2 separate regions of the Homo sapiens genome follow, and region 1 is linked to region 2. The links are contacts of gene promoters, found by promoter capture Hi-C in blood cells and fetal thymus (Javierre and others, 2016). All regions are on one chromosome and are shown on one strand. Each heading gives the region's core, a stretch centred on a gene start or on the middle of the fragment in contact. The rest is flanking DNA. Distances are from core to core; before and after follow the strand shown. Region 1 has its middle 33 kb from the start of LINC01117. Region 2 holds the start of HOXD11 (homeobox D11).

Region 1 (3,392 bases), core at 184-2,683, 560 kb after region 2:
GGCTCTCTGACATTACATAATTTCTCTGCTAAACCAAAGATCTCATTGAGTTTGCTGTTCAGCCATGTCTTATGTTGGATTAGGGGTATATTTGTTCAAAGCTCAGTTTCATCATTTGTCCAGCTTCACAGTATTTCCCCAGATAGGGAGGCTGCCTTCCAGGCTTGGCTGGTTTTTCCTATATTGCTGGGAAAGTTTTCAGTGAATGAATACAATGTAGAGTTTTCATTTGTCACCATGTTATCTCATTTCTAATTTTTGTTCAAGTTATTTTAAGGAAAAGCACCACCCAGTTTCTCTGACCAACTTTTAAAAAAAGATGAAAAGATTTTCTCAGCATGAATAATAGCAACAAGCACATGATGGTCTAAGCTTTTGAACTCTCAGACAGCTGGAGTGCCCAGAATCAGAGTGATTTTCTTCAACCACTTTAGTGCACTGTGAATGTGTGATCGGAGTAGAGTGTGTGATCTTAAACAGTCCTGGTGTCGTGTGGGGAGTTTCCATTCCTTCACTAAATAGACTTCCTGGTTTGAAATTAGCGTCTCATCATGACAAACAGGACCATGTACAGGGAGGTCAGCAGGGGCCTTTCCTGTCATTTGAAACGTGCCCTTGGTTTTGCTTCCCCTAACCCCAGTGCCTTGGAATGCTGTTTGAATCTGGGGATCAAGTGATTCTAAAGTCTCTCCAGGAAAGGAGAATTCAATGAAGCATTCAGCAGCAAAAACTTGGTTAAAAGTGCAGCCTGTGTCAGCATAGGAATGAATTAGAAACAGACTGTGAAAACCTCACCTGTGATCAGTATCACACCCAGAAAGTTGGAGACATCAGGAGGACATGTTCTATGTTTTCACTACCTTGTTGCAGGCAGTCATGAGAGTGATAGGAGGTCACTGTGACTTGTAGTTGTAGGTCCCATTTACTTTCAGGAGAGCAGGCTGAGAGGCTAAGTTCTGTGGTCCGTTGATTATCTTACCTTGGCTTTTCATAACCTGGCAGTTTCCAAAAATAGTTTGAGGACTAACAGAATTGCTAACTACCTCCCACCTCACTCCTGTAAAGACAGTGAACACAACCAGTCTCTTTTTTCCTTTGTTTCATACAAGAAGGGAAATTTTTATACTATAATATGAGAAGACTATAATCTAAAAATAAAATCTTTCTTAAGAAAATTTCCTCATTTTGCTCTGGACCTGTGAAAATGTTTGCACAGACCTGCCTTTGGGAAATCACTTCTCTAGGATGAGCAACATTACGAAATTCCCTCTGTATGGCCATAGCATAGCTTTGTTCCTAGCTCCGGCTAACTTTCTTTGTGGCTGATGCTTTTTAAAGAATTCTGGTTGAATGTCACTTAGTACTGGCTGGAACTTTGTTCAGTAGTTTTGGTAGATGCTGCTGGTATTATCATAATTCATTCATTCACTTGCTTATTTAACAAACTGCCAGACCCAGGCTATGTACTGAAGAGATAAAACAAAATAAACTCACTATTCTCAAGGAGCTTGAAACTCCTTTTCAAGAATCTTATTTAAAAATTTTTAAAAGTCTCTCTTTGTGCCATGAGGGCTTGTGTAGAACACAAGCAGAAGTTGTGAAATGAGTATTTATCTATAGATCCTAAATAAAGGTTTATTGGAGATTTCTCTCTCTACCTCTTTTTTTCTCTGTACTATTCAAAGAAACCTTGTTTCTGATAAGGTAAGGTAGAAGTTAACTAGATAAAGTTCTGACAATGAAATTTAAATTACAGGTTCTAGTGTGATTTTGGCACATCAAAACCCAAAGAACATTTAGAATGTGCCCAGCCCATGGAATCTATTCCTTTGATCTACTCAGCTCACCAAGATGATTGTTCAGCCCTCCCCCACTTTCTCTCAAAATATCTCAACCACTAACAACAGCAACAATAAATAAAAAGGAAAGGAGGAAAGAAGAAAAATCTCCTTAGGGGCATAAATTATTTTCATTTGCTTTCTGCAATGACAAAATTAAGAAAACACCAAATAGCTACATTACTTTGCATTGGGTAAACCTCCAGCCTTCAATTGCTAGGTAACATTTCTTGCAGCTGCTGAGGCTAAGAAACTAGTTTTGCTTTGAATAGATTTGGTGTATATTCAAAATCCTACTCGGTGAAATCCAGTTGTTTGTGAGCTTAAAATTGAAAGGCTTTGTATGCTTTTCTTTGAAATCAGGACCCATTTCAAAGGCATATTACTCACTGGATAAATTGCTGGTTCACAGTTCCAAACCAAAATCAAAGGGGTCTGCAGGCAACTTTGACACTGTCAAGTACCTGGAACTGTGCTGCTATGTGATGAACATTAAGTAAATGTTTGCTTAATGAATGAATGCATGGACTCAATTAATGATCATATCAGCTTGCATTTGTATATTGCTTTATAATTTGTAAAGTGATTTCACATCTATATTCACTATAACAGTTTGAATAAAGAAGAAATTAACTTCACATGTTGGATTCTGCTTTAAAGCTTTAAAGCCACTGATAAGTCGTTGGCTTAACGTGAATATTAATTATTTAACTAATAAAGTAAAAATAAGCTAGGGATCAAAACAGTGGTTTAAAAGATTATGCTACTATTATTTTTATACAATCTGGGGCAGAGTTGATCCTTAAACCAGAATTCCACCTCCAATGAATGTTTACTGTTGTGTGATTGTGGGTGTGTGTGTGTGTGTGTGTGTGTGTGTGTGTGTGTGTGTAAACACAGGCATGTATACTGTAGCTTTTCTGTTTTCTCCAGAAATGTAACCAAAAAATCTAGAGAGAAACAATCAAATATTTATACCAGAGCTTTGGTGCAAGTAGCTAAGATACCAGCCACTGACCCAGCTGGACAGTAGCCTTTTATTTTTTCCTTATTTGGAGCCATGGCCTTGACCTGGCTGAATGTCAGTAAAAGTAGTGTTAGGCAATGCTCCCAAATAATTCATCTAAGGACCCCAAAGCTGGCCCTTCCATACAACTCTTCTTCTTTGCAAAGGCTATAGATCACAGAAAGGCTTCCTTGAGAAATGAGGGGCAAAACAAATCAAATCAAAACACAAAACAGATAGCACCTCTCTTTGGGTTCCTGGACACCCCAGCTCTCAATTTTGTTTCAAGAGCTCAGACATCAGTCCTGATCATAAATTGCTGTAAATTCTAAGATTTCTCATAGAAAACAGTAGTTTGGCTACCTTAGATAAGTATTACATGAGGCTTGGTGAATGTTGAGTTAGTAGTAAATTACTGAATTCCTTGTTTTTCTTGTTGTTCTTGTTGTTGTTTATTTGTTTTCTTGGATAGCTTTATTTGTTAAATATACAGTAAAATGGTGTTATAATGAATTCACAGAGAGATTACAAAAAAAAAAAAGATTCCT
Region 2 (3,670 bases), core at 890-3,389:
GATCCAGGGGCGTCGACCACGAGCCCGAAAGGGAGAGGCTTGGGCCTGGGATGGAGATGGGGAGGCAGATAAGTGTGCTGGGGGTCTGGGTTGAGGAGAAGAATGTCAGCTGGAATCTGGGCGGGGGTGCCAGCTGCGGGGAGGGAGCACACAAGATGGGCAGTTCTAGTTGGGGGAGGCTCGATGCCCTCCAGTCGCCACAGACCTATTTGCGCAGTGTTGGGGGAGGGAAGAAGACATGGGAAGGGGCGGAGGAAGGAGAGAGGAAGGGAGAAAGGGAGGGAGGAGAAAAAGAGGAAGGGGGGGTACATCAGCCAGAAAATAGATATTAGCTCAGACCACCCGCCTTTTCTCTGTCTGTCCGCACGGTGGGCAGAGCGCACAGCACCGGCACTGCAGCAGCCCGGGCCAGGGAGGGAACCAGCATCACAGCCAGCGCCGCCTGCCCTGGGTATAGGACTGAGGCCCAGGCCCCAGCGCTGGGATTGCCTGGGCGGAGGAATCTTGGGGAAAGGGGCAGCCTCCTGCCCTCGGTTCTGGGATTTGGGTTTGGGAAGAGACGGTTTACCTTTGAAAAGCGTCTGCTCACTCGGAGGTGGGATCCCAGGCCTTGCCTGGACCCATGGGCTAGGAGAGGGTCGCGGCAGGCTGGGAGGAGAGTGAGGCCTTGGGGGAGTGGATGGGGTGCCCCACGAAGAGTCTGCCTCAGAGCCAGGTGACACAGAGGGGCTCCAGGAGGGAGTCAGGCTCCGCTGAGAGCCCTTAGAGAGACAACCTATCTTGGGGGAGGGGCTGAAGTGACCATGCAGACCCAAGGGTACCAGAAGAGCCTCGGGGAAACGCGGCGTGGATTCGCAGGCCTTGGCGGGGCTCCGAAGCAGTGAAGGGTCTAGGTATAAGGCGGACACCCAGGCTAGGCCTGAAAGCAGAGGGGTGAGGAGGACGAAGGTGCGAGTGTGTGGGGGTTGTCTCTTGTGGGGAGCCAGCGGGAAGCCAAGCACCCTAAGAGTAGGACTCCAGATCCTTTTGTTCACCAGACTCCCCAGATTCTAGGGAGGCTGGGGACCACGGGCTGAGCCCCCTCCTGGCTTCAGTGCTGAAGGAGAAGGCAGAGAGGCAACGGGGAGAGAGACAGAGACAGTGACACACAGCTTAGAGGAAAGGAGGGGAGAGGATGAGAGGACAGAGAGAGAGAGGAGAAGGGAGACAGGAAAGCAAGAGGAAGGAAGAAGGAAAGCGGAAAAGAAGAGGAAGGAGAGAAGTGAAGACAGGAGAGAGAAGGGAGAAGACTGAAGAGAAACGAGGCAAGGAGAAAGAGAGACAAGAACAGAGAGGGAAACCAGAGAGAAGGGAAGAGAGCCGGGTGGGCACGAAGGCCCCGGCCTGGGTGAGTGCCTAGGTGGTGAATGGCCTGGGTTTTTCCGAGGCCAGCACTCGCACCCTTGGGGTCAGAACCGGAAAGAGCCAAGTCACTCCACTCTGAACGCGCTGGGCAGAAAAATATGTAAATCAGGGCTCCCTGCGCCCTGGAGAGTGGCGAAATTACTCCCGCCCGGTGAACAAGAAGCAACAAGCTCCCAGGCGGGTGAGCTGCAGAGGGTGGCAGAGTCGCGGGGGAGGGAGCGGCTGCAGTAAGGGGGGTGGGGTTCGGAACCTCACACCCTCACACCTAGTTCCTAGCTTCTAGGGAGCCTGGAGCCGGGGCTTCCCCCCCTCTGCTCGCTGCTTCTCTCCCTTCCCCCTTCCTCCCCCTCTTCCCCCTCCTTCCTCCTCCCCGCCGGCCTCGGTCCGCGTACTTAAAGCGGCGCGGGAGGGCGGACGCGGGCGGGCGGCCCGTTCGGGCGGTGGCAGATGCGCCCAGCGGTGACAGCGGCCAGCGGCGCGCAGGTGACCGGCCTGAGGCGCAGCCTGGTCAGGGAGCGCCCGGGGAGAGCTGGCGGCAGAGGGCAGCCGATCCGCCCCCAGCGCGCGCGTCTCGGCGCCAGGAGCCGTCCCGGGGCGTGTTGGCGAGCGTTGATATAGATATAAGGACATTTCTCTTCATGGCGTCACGTGACATAATTACCACCAGAATCAATCAAGATGAATTGCACGTCAGCGCCCGGTGGGGATTTTTGCTTAGTTGATCCTGGCCCAAGCCTCTTGTGCAATCGATGGCTCAGGTTGGCTGCGCGGGGAGCGGCCAGAGGCTCGCTGGCGCGCACGCCGCGGAGTCATGAACGACTTTGACGAGTGCGGCCAGAGCGCAGCCAGCATGTACCTGCCGGGCTGCGCCTACTATGTGGCCCCGTCTGACTTCGCTAGCAAGCCTTCGTTCCTTTCCCAACCGTCGTCCTGCCAGATGACTTTCCCCTACTCTTCCAACCTGGCTCCGCACGTCCAGCCCGTGCGCGAAGTGGCCTTCCGCGACTACGGCCTGGAGCGCGCCAAGTGGCCGTACCGCGGCGGCGGCGGCGGCGGCAGCGCGGGGGGCGGCAGCAGCGGGGGCGGCCCCGGCGGGGGCGGCGGCGGCGCGGGGGGCTACGCTCCCTACTACGCGGCGGCGGCGGCGGCGGCTGCGGCGGCCGCGGCGGCCGAGGAGGCGGCCATGCAACGCGAGCTTCTCCCGCCCGCGGGCCGCCGGCCGGACGTGCTCTTCAAGGCGCCTGAGCCGGTGTGCGCTGCGCCGGGGCCGCCGCACGGCCCCGCGGGCGCCGCCTCCAACTTCTACAGCGCGGTGGGCCGCAATGGCATCTTGCCACAGGGCTTCGACCAGTTCTACGAGGCAGCGCCCGGGCCCCCGTTCGCCGGGCCGCAGCCCCCGCCGCCACCCGCGCCGCCACAGCCCGAGGGCGCAGCCGACAAGGGCGACCCCAGGACCGGGGCTGGTGGCGGCGGGGGCAGTCCCTGCACCAAGGCGACCCCTGGCTCGGAGCCCAAGGGGGCAGCAGAAGGCAGCGGTGGCGACGGCGAGGGCCCCCCGGGAGAGGCGGGGGCCGAGAAGAGCAGCAGCGCAGGTAGGCACCGGGTACTGGGCAAGCGGTGGGCCCGGGGGCCGCGGGGGAGGGGGGGGGGGCGGAGGCCTCCCTCTGCTTGCGCCTTTTTATGTGCTACTTTATAAGCATTCGAAGAGGTTTATACATCCTATAAGATTTCCTGGGCCGTTGTAAAGTGTGTTTATGGTAGGAAACCAATTTAGGTGGGCTTAAGGTAGACTTCGAGGAGGACATTAATAGCTGTCGAGAGCCTTTTCCCAGTTTTGGGCAGGGGGTTGCTAGATACCATGGAGGGAGGGAGGGAGGGAGATTTCAAGCCAGTGTGAGTGCATACACCGGAGCCTCCTGCTTTTAAGGGAGAGAGGCGGGGGGTGGGGAAGTGGGGGGAGTTTGATCCTTGCACTGGACTTTATCCAAGCCGCTAGCTGACGCGCGCCGCTGGAGTCAAGCAGATGCCCCGGCGGGCCTGCTCTTGTCTCTGTTCCCTCAGGTTCCAGTTTAGAGCCTGCCTTGCCCTCTGCTTCCCCACCTCCGTGCCAGGCTCTGTGTGTGTGTGTGTGTGTGTGTGTGTGTGTGTGTGTGTCCGGGCGTGAACACATGTCCACGCCCGCACTCTCTCCTGTGCCCGCCCATATATCATCCCCCACGACGCAGGCAGGGCCTTTCGGCCGCGGCAGAGAACGTCCCCAACGGGG

Evidence for each region. The method cuts DNA at HindIII sites, captures the fragments that hold promoters and counts their contacts. A CHiCAGO score of 5 or more calls a contact.
Region 1: a contact is called between a fragment that was not itself captured here and the fragment with the promoter of HOXD11 in region 2, in 1 of 17 cell types (fetal thymus). The highest score is 5.5, in fetal thymus.

Annotation. Positions count from the first base shown.
Region 1 is chr2:176,669,081-176,672,472 of GRCh38, forward strand. No RefSeq gene overlaps it. Among named protein-coding and RNA genes, the nearest start is that of LINC01117, 33 kb to the left of the region's middle. The HindIII fragment of the contact is 2,126 bases long and covers 371-2,496 here.
Region 2 is chr2:176,105,141-176,108,810 of GRCh38, forward strand. It overlaps HOXD11 (homeobox D11), which reads left to right and starts at 2,140. Exons shown (of 2, transcript NM_021192.3): 1 at 2,140-2,996. The coding sequence starts at 2,216. The HindIII fragment of the contact is 7,005 bases long and covers 1-3,670 here.